Linked DNA regions of Homo sapiens: all the other regions are linked to region 2. The links are contacts of gene promoters, found by promoter capture Hi-C in blood cells and fetal thymus (Javierre and others, 2016). All regions are on one chromosome and are shown on one strand. The core of a region is centred on a gene start or on the middle of the fragment in contact, and the rest is flanking DNA. Distances in the headings are between cores, read along the strand shown.

Evidence for each region. Contacts are between HindIII fragments. The CHiCAGO score rates a contact against its expected background, and 5 or more counts as called.
Region 1: a contact is called between a fragment that was not itself captured here and the fragment with the promoter of CDH26 in region 2, in 2 of 17 cell types (total CD8 T cells and naive CD8 T cells). The highest score is 5.3, in total CD8 T cells.
Region 3: a fragment that was not itself captured here is called in contact with the fragment with the promoter of CDH26 in region 2 in 1 of 17 cell types (total CD4 T cells); the score reaches 6.2 in total CD4 T cells.

Annotation. Positions count from the first base shown.
Region 1 is chr20:61,258,430-61,261,129 of GRCh38, reverse strand. All of the region lies in intron 2 of CDH4 (cadherin 4), which reads right to left. Among named protein-coding and RNA genes, the nearest start is that of CDH4, 7.5 kb to the right of the region's middle. The HindIII fragment of the contact is 5,359 bases long and covers 1-2,700 here.
Region 2 is chr20:59,957,139-59,959,838 of GRCh38, reverse strand. It overlaps CDH26 (cadherin 26), which reads right to left and starts at 1,416. Exons shown (of 18, transcript NM_177980.4): 1 at 1,044-1,416. The coding sequence starts at 1,112. The HindIII fragment of the contact is 452 bases long and covers 1,326-1,777 here.
Region 3 is chr20:61,198,527-61,201,226 of GRCh38, reverse strand. No RefSeq gene overlaps it. Among named protein-coding and RNA genes, the nearest start is that of CDH4, 52 kb to the left of the region's middle. The HindIII fragment of the contact is 3,444 bases long and covers 1-2,700 here.

The DNA of each region.
Region 1 (2,700 bases), core at 45-2,544, 1.3 Mb before region 2:
CCTGGGTAGCAGCAGGGCCACTGACCACAGCTCCCTCTTGCGATGGAAGGCAGAGCTGTGAGAAGCAGCTGCACACAGGGGCAAGTGGCTGTGCAGAGCCCGGGGCGGCAGTGTTCTGCCTCGCTTTATTTCTAACCAGGGCTACCAGGACCCTCTCTCAGAGTGGGATTTGGCCTGCAGATGATGCACCATGCAGCGCTTTCTGTGCTTTATTCCTGGGCCGCTCCTACCTTTTATCTGATAGCAACCACTTTCTAAAGACAGGATATATACTTCCCTTTCTGAACCTCTTAACCCTGGGACCAGACAAAACTATAAGAGGGAAAAGCTGCTGGAAACCTCAAACAATAACGGCCCCTTGAAAAGGCAAGGACCACCCCCAGAGATGGCCAAAGAGATCCCACGGTCTCCCTCATGGGCTCTGCGTGCCCATTTTTGGGGATCCCTGAAGTGACCACCCATGGAGGCAGTGGGGGTCTGGGTGCTCAGAAAGAAGTAGTCCTCTGACTTTGACAGCAAGAAAGTCTGGGCTTTGAGCTCACCCAAGCCACCAGTGGGGTCTGAGTCCCACCCAGCCTTCACATAATTCTGCTTCGCTACAGAGACCAAGGTTCCCTAGAACCAGTAGATATTGTGACCAGAGGCAAAACCCCCAATACATAACTCCTGACTTCCTGGAGAAGCATCACTATGAGATCCAGCAAAGAGTTTACATTCTCTGGTGGGGGTTCAGATAGTCCCGGCTTAATATATCTAAGGGTTCTTTCATCTCCTGGGCATAAGACAGCGTGGAGTAGTGACTGTTCATTTATTCAACAAACAGTTACCAAGTATTCATGACATGCTCTCTGCAATCCAGTGTGCTAGGTGCAGACATCAATTCACAAAAGGAGCAGAGGAGGGCCTTTAAAGCAAGAGCAAGTGGCCAAGGTCCAAGGAACACTGGAGGGTAGAGGGAGCCTGAAAACCTAGGCTCAGGACAGAGTTTGACTTTGCTAGTGTGCAGTTTTCCTAAGTCAGGGAATGCACGAGGCTGCATGTGACAACAAAACCAAGCGTGGTGTTTTGACCTTATTTTTCTCACCACTCAGGAGACAATGAGTCCAGGGCTCTGCCATTGTTTGAGGATGCCTTCTGGGACCCAATTTGTGTTCCACCATCCTCAAACTCACAAAATGGCTGCTTTCCCTCAGCCATCACATCTGAGTTCCAGGTAGGAGGAAGAAGTAAGAGCAAAGGGTGGAAGGCATGGCCAGCTCAGTTTGTTCCTTGTTATCAAGAATAAAAACAGCTTTCCCCAAAGCCTAACCTAATAGACTAACCTAATTAGATACCGGTGACCAGAAAGAAGCCACATTGCCACATTGGTGTAAATGAGTCTAGAGGTGTATTAAACAGGGCACATTGTCAGCCAATGGACTAGCACAGATGAGGTTTGTTGGCAAGGGAGAGAGAGAGAGAGAATCAATACTGGACAGGCAACTTCCAGTGTCTAATAATTCCAGGCATATGTGGTTGGCTTATCATTAGTGCCACTTATGGGAATATTCATAGCAGCTCCCTGTCTGCTGTGAGTTAACCAAAGCGACTCGGAAACACGAACAGTGTCAGTATTTTCCGGCTCATTCATTACTTTATTTGACTAATACTGACTTCACAGCCACCATGCATTAGGCCGGTGCTGGACATCGGCTATGCAGGGAGATGGGATGACATTCTTGCCTGTGTATCTAGCATGTGTCTGCCCTGGAAGAGTTGCCTATCTATGCAGAGGTGGTTCAAACCAAACTGCATGGGCAAAGAGCCTATCTTCAACCTACTTGTAAAGACAAGATAATAGTACTTCTGGCCATGCAGTGTGGCAGAAATGGCAGATTCTTAGATATGGATTCCAGACACTGCATCTGATCTCTCTTCAACCATGCCTCTGTCTGAATGCCTTTGTATGCAAATGAGTCATTCACTCATTCAGCAATTCACTGTCTGTCAACTCTGCTTCGGGTACAGCACTGGGCACTGGGGAAGGTCTACTCAGCATCCATCCCTCCTTCTTCCTTCCTAAAACAAAGCCCCAATTCTGTTCTGAGACGAGCAATTTGGACACCTACCATGTGATGGATTATAATGGATCTAAGACACACATGACAATGCAATTCTCTGCATTCCCAGTGCTCCACCCCCATCAGTTTAGCTAAGAGTGGCCTGTGACCTAGTCAATGAAAACTTCTGCAGGGATTCTGAGAAAGTGTTTGTCTTCCTGGTACAGGGAAGAAATGCAGATGGTGCTACTATCTGCACCTTCTTCTGCTCTGAACTCAGAAGCAACGACTGGAACCACAGCAGCCAGTTTGCAGTGACGAGGCACTAAATGACACACTAAAGATGGCAGAATGGAAGAAGAGGATTAGGCAGGCACATGACCGTGTCCCTTGTCTGCTGTTCCAGCATGTGACCACCTATGTCTGCACTCACGGTTATGTAAGAAAAATTTACTCCCATTTATTTAAGATTATGTGAATTGGGTTTTATTCTGTTGGCCAAGAACATCCTGAAATGATATAAATAGAAATAAGAATGACAGAGCTCTTACCCTCAGAAACCAGAGAGTTTAAGTAAGAGAGATGATTGGCCAGATAATGTAAGTTCTCCAGTAAGGAGGCAGAGGGTGGTACGAGGGTACACAAGATGGTCCTAAACTAA
Region 2 (2,700 bases), core at 167-2,666:
CCATTTAAACAGTGGCAGTTGGGGGCAATGGATTTAGCCATTCCATCCCCATGGGTTTGCTCAAATTGCCTTGGATCCAGACAACTGAGATTTCCTCAATCTTATGTAAAGTGTGAACAGAAGTATCATTATAAAACTTGGCAGGGCGCAGTGTCTCAAGCCTGTCATCCTAACACTTTGGGAGGCTGAGGCAGGCAGATCACTTGAGGTCAGGAGTTTGAGACCAGCCTGGCCAACATGGTGAAACCCTGTCTCTAATAAAAATACAAAAACTAGCCGGGCATGGTGGCGTGCACCTGTAGTCCCAGTACTCGGGAGGCTGAGCCAGGAGGTTGCTTGAACCCAGTAGGAGGAGGTTGCGGTGCACTGAGATGTCACCACGCACTGTAGCCTGGATGACGAGACCCTGTCTCAAAAAAAAAAAAAAATTGTGTGTGTTGGCTGGGTGAGGTGGCTCATGCCTGTAAACCCAACACTTCGGAAGGGCAAGGCGAATAAATCACTTGAGCTTAGGAGTTCGAGACCAGCCTGGGCAACATGGTGAAAATCCATCTCTATAAAAAATACAGAAATTAGCCAGCGTGGTGGTAAGTTACTGTAGTCCCAGCTACTCTTGAGGCTGAGGTGGAAGGATCACCTGAGCCTGGGAGGTTAAAGCTGCAGTGAGCCTTGATCATGCCACTGCACTCCAGCCTGGATGATGAAGCCAGACCCTGTCTCAACAAAAGGAGAAAGAAACAAAGAAAGAAAACACGTGTGTGTTGATGTAATCTCACTAAAAATAGTGTGAACTATATAAATTAGTTTTAAACAGGTCCCTTAGCCTGCTCCCACTGTTGCCCCAAACAGACTGGGACCCTTAACTTCCCTTTATATAAATCCAGAGCCCCTGCTACCTAAGCCATTCTCAAGACAGCCAGCCCTGGGTCCCAGCAGGTCACACTCAGTCCCTCTCCCCTCCCTTAGCCTAGAAGGGGCAGGGCCAGCTTGTGCTTTGCTTTCAGTTCCCTGCACCTGAGCACTAGGCTGCAGGCTCAGCTTACCTGCAGCAGCCACAGCAGCAGCACTAGAAGCAGCAGCAGCGAGGGGTGCCTCCCGGATCTCATGGCCATATGGGAATACCCAAGACAGACCCAGAACGTGCAGCTGATGACCAGTCCTCCAAGCTGGTGGTCTCACCGGAGCCACACACCTCCTTCTCAGCCAGCAGCTTCTTCTCTAAAGGTTTTCAGGTCACTTTGGCCCAGATGCTTTCATCCCATCTTGCTCCTCCCTTTTCAGCTTTTCTTGCATTTATCAGAGTGGGGTGGGCTGACTTGTAAGCTTGAACATACGTTTGCCACAAGTAGAGTTCCTAGGAAGGGTGGGGTAGAAACTAAAGCCACCATGGTCCTGCACGTACACAAAAGACTGGCTGGGGTCTGACCTCAGGAACAACAGCTCAGCCAGCGGAAGTAAAACCAGCACCTATCGGAAAGCAGAATTATTTGTTTCTTTGTTTCCTTGTTTGTTCTGGTTTCCAAATAGAAGGTCCAATCATCTCTTTCTATAGCAGGATATGTTAGTGACTATTTTCTATAATCTTATCCTCTTGAACCAAACAAAAAAAACTAGAAAATGACAAGAATGATAACTTTATTAAGGGGGAAGGGATGGGGAAGAATGAAAGAAAAGAAAAATCAACTTTTACTTTCCAAAGCACTAAAAATCGTTATTCCAACAATATCCCAGGGCTCTGGGGTTTTCAAATTATTTCTACTAAAACCTTTTTTAAGCTTAGATTAATCTGCCTTTTTGAGTTTGGAATTAAAGTGGGAGGGAGGAGAGATGGGAAAGAGCCTCCCTATGGACAGGGATCTCTGTGGCAACCCGGGAGTCTTTGCATGAGAATTCTGAAAGAGACAATTTGAGATTATATTATACCAATACTTAAGGTTGCAGTAAGCAAGTTTTAAAACACAATCTGTGATACATTAACCCTGATTACCTTAACATGACCTTTTTATCACATTACCTTGTTTAAAGTAGTAAACAGATAAAATAAAAGGTAAACTTTCTTTGCTTGTTCTAGATATTGGCTTAGGCAAGGATTTCATGACCAAGAACCAAAAAGCAAATGCAATAAAATCAAAGATAAATAGCTGGGACCTAATTAAACTAAAGAGCTTTTGCACTGCAAAAGGAACAGTCAGCAGAGTAAACAGACAACCCACAGAGTGGGAGAAAATCTTCACAATCTATACATCTGACAAAGGATTAATATCCAGAATCCACAATGAACTCCAACAAATCAGTAAGAAAAAAACAATCCCATCAAAAAGTGGGATAAGGACATGAATAGACAATTCTCAAAAGAAGATATACAAATGGTCAACAAGCATATGAAAAAATGCTCAACATCACCAATGATCAGCAAAACGCAAATCAAAACCGCAGTGCGATACCACCTTACTCCTGCAAGAATGACCATAATCAAAAAATCAAAAAACAGTAGACGTTGGTGTGGATGTGACAATCAGGGAACACTTCTACACTGCTGGGGGGAATATAACATAGTACAGCTGCTATGGAAAACAGTGTGGAGATTCCTTAAAGAACAAAAGTAGAACTACCATTTGATCCAGCAATCCCACTACTGGGTATCTTCCCAGAGGAAAAGAAGTCATTATTCGAAAAAGATACTTGCACATGCACGTTTAT
Region 3 (2,700 bases), core at 11-2,510, 1.2 Mb before region 2:
TTAAACCAATTGCTGAGAGAGAAGTATTCAAGGCTCCAGCTGTAACTGTAAATTTTGCTGTCACTTTCAAATAAATCAGTTTTTGCTTCACGTATTTTAAAGCTGTGTTGTTAGTATTGTCTCTTGTGGGAGACTTGATTCTTTTATAATTATGTATTATCACTCTTTATCTCTGATAATATTCCTTGTTCTACATTCTGCATTGTATGGAATTATTACAGTTGCTCCAGCTTTCTGTAGCTTGTGTTGGCAAGATCTATCACTCTCCATGCTTCTACTTTTGATATTTCTATGTCTTTAAATTTAAAATAAATGTCATGTGGACAGCATATTGTTGAGTCTTTTTTTTCATTCAACCTGGCAATCTCTGTCTTTTAACTGCTGTGTTTAGATCATTCACATTTAAAATGGTTATCAATATAACTGGATTAAAACTACCATCTTGCCAGCTGTTGTCTAGTTGTTTCATTTGTTATTTGTTTATTCCCCCTTGTTGTCTTCTCTAGATTTGATGGACTATTTTTATAATTTCTTTTCACTTCCTCTATTAATTATTTATCTCACTTGATGTTTTAATATTTGCCCTGGTATTTATAATATGTACTTTAAAAAATCTAAGGTCTTCTTCAAATAATAGTATACTAATTTGTATGAAGTGCAAGGGCCTCTGTATGTTTCTAAGTCCTTTTCTCATCCTTTGTGCCATAGCTGTCGTGGATTTCACTTTTTTTTGTTGTTGCATATGCTGTAAGCACACAGTAGTGGGCATGCTTGTAAGACAGCGCAAACCCCATCCATGCTTCTAGTCCTAGGGCTTTACACTTTCCCATACTTGGCTTTAAGCAATTAGTTAAGAATTCATAGCTGGATTTTATTACCAGTGTATGTAGAATCAGGCAACATCTGCTCCAAGTAAATGAATGCTTGGTTCTTCTTTTTCTCCGCAAGCATCTGTCTCTCCCCAGGTTTGGGGCGTTTTGTTTGCTCTGCAACTTCAGTTCTTTTATGATATCAGGAAAAGTCAGTGGTTTGCAGTTTGTTCAGTTCTTTACTCATTGTAAAGGTGGAAGCAGTACCCTTTCCAGATCTCTTTGTCACTTCAAAATCTGAAGTCCTGGACTCCACTTTGTTTGAACTGTATTTTACCATCTCTCGGTGTACTCAAGTTTTATCATAGAAACTTGGTCTTATCTGGCTATCTGCCTGGCGCATCTTTTAAGAAACTGTTAGAGGGTAACTGCCAAGACTTGTGAACACCTACCAATTGTATCTCACACCAAAAACTTGCAAATGATATCTTACCTTTCCATTACCTTGAAGATTCCTTTCTCTGCAAAAAAATTCTCAAGAATCCTCCAAGGTGCCCTTAGAATGGCAATAATGCTTAGAATCAGGGAGATCTGGGTTCAAATTTGTGATTCACCACTTCTAGTTGAACCACAATGTTGACATTCTTGATTTCTCCAAGTCTTCCTAGAGTGGGGGTGATCACGATGTGGAATTGTGCATATGAAAGGAATTTTCACATACATGACAACCTATGCAGCCACCATTTTGTTTTATCTTAGGTAGTTACTCCCAGTAAGTAACAACTATTTGAGTAACTCAGTAAATGCCTCAAGCACATTTGTTTCTGTAGGAAGGATTCTTTGGTAGACTTCCATGAAACACTAAATCTTTTTTTTTTTAATCACAGAATGGCCAAATCATCACCTCTTGCAGGCTTTACCCTTCCCTACAGGTCACAGCTGCTCTTTGTCCATTGCTCTCCAAGCCAGTCCATGCCTCCCCAGTTAACTCAGATGTCCAAGCTCTAAATCTAGGAGCCATTCCTGATTCTTCTTTCTTCTTCACCCTCATATCTGGTTTTTCTCCAAATGATATCTCCCTCCCTTTCAAAACGACCAGCACCTTCCATTAGAACTGCTCCATCACCTGTGAACTTGCGTTTCCTCCAAGCTCTTCTCCACTCTGTTGCCAAGTGCTCTTCCTAAGATAGAGTCCTGGCTCCTCAGGGCTGTACGCCTTTGTTGGCTTCCCAAACATTTGAGCTCCCTGCCACTGTCCCTGGGCAGATTCCCTTCTTGTGTTCCATTAGCGTCCATGCCTCCACTTCATGCCTCTCTCTTCTCCTGGACTTGGAGGTTTCCCTTGTTCACTACTTCATCCCCCACAACTAGCTGAGACATTGCCACCAGCTTTCAGAAGGCACTCAATAAACATTGGATAAGTAAATGAACGAATGAGTTTGTGAGTGAGTACATGATGGTAATCTTATATTGTGGAAAAGAGGATCAGACTTTAGAGAGGAAGAATATGAGCACCAACAGTCAGTGCTGCCACAGCCCCTGCCATGTGCTCAGCACTGTTTTTAGATACTTGACTTAGCACATGCCAAGCCTATGAGGCAGGTGCTATTATGTTCATTTTACAGAAGACAAAATTGAGATACTAATTTACAAAAGTCATAAAGTAAGTTGCATGTACACTTAGAGAAATTTATAGAACTGGCTCAAAATGACGCCTTAATTTTATACTACACATGGAGACAGCCATTTTTTTTCATGAGTCATAATTTTAAGTCCATTTTATCTTGATTTATATTTGACCAAACGCATGAGAGATTTCAAAGATTGTCTTGGTAACCTTCCTATGCTTTCAGCCTAGTGCATGGACCCCCATGCCAAGATTAACAGTGGT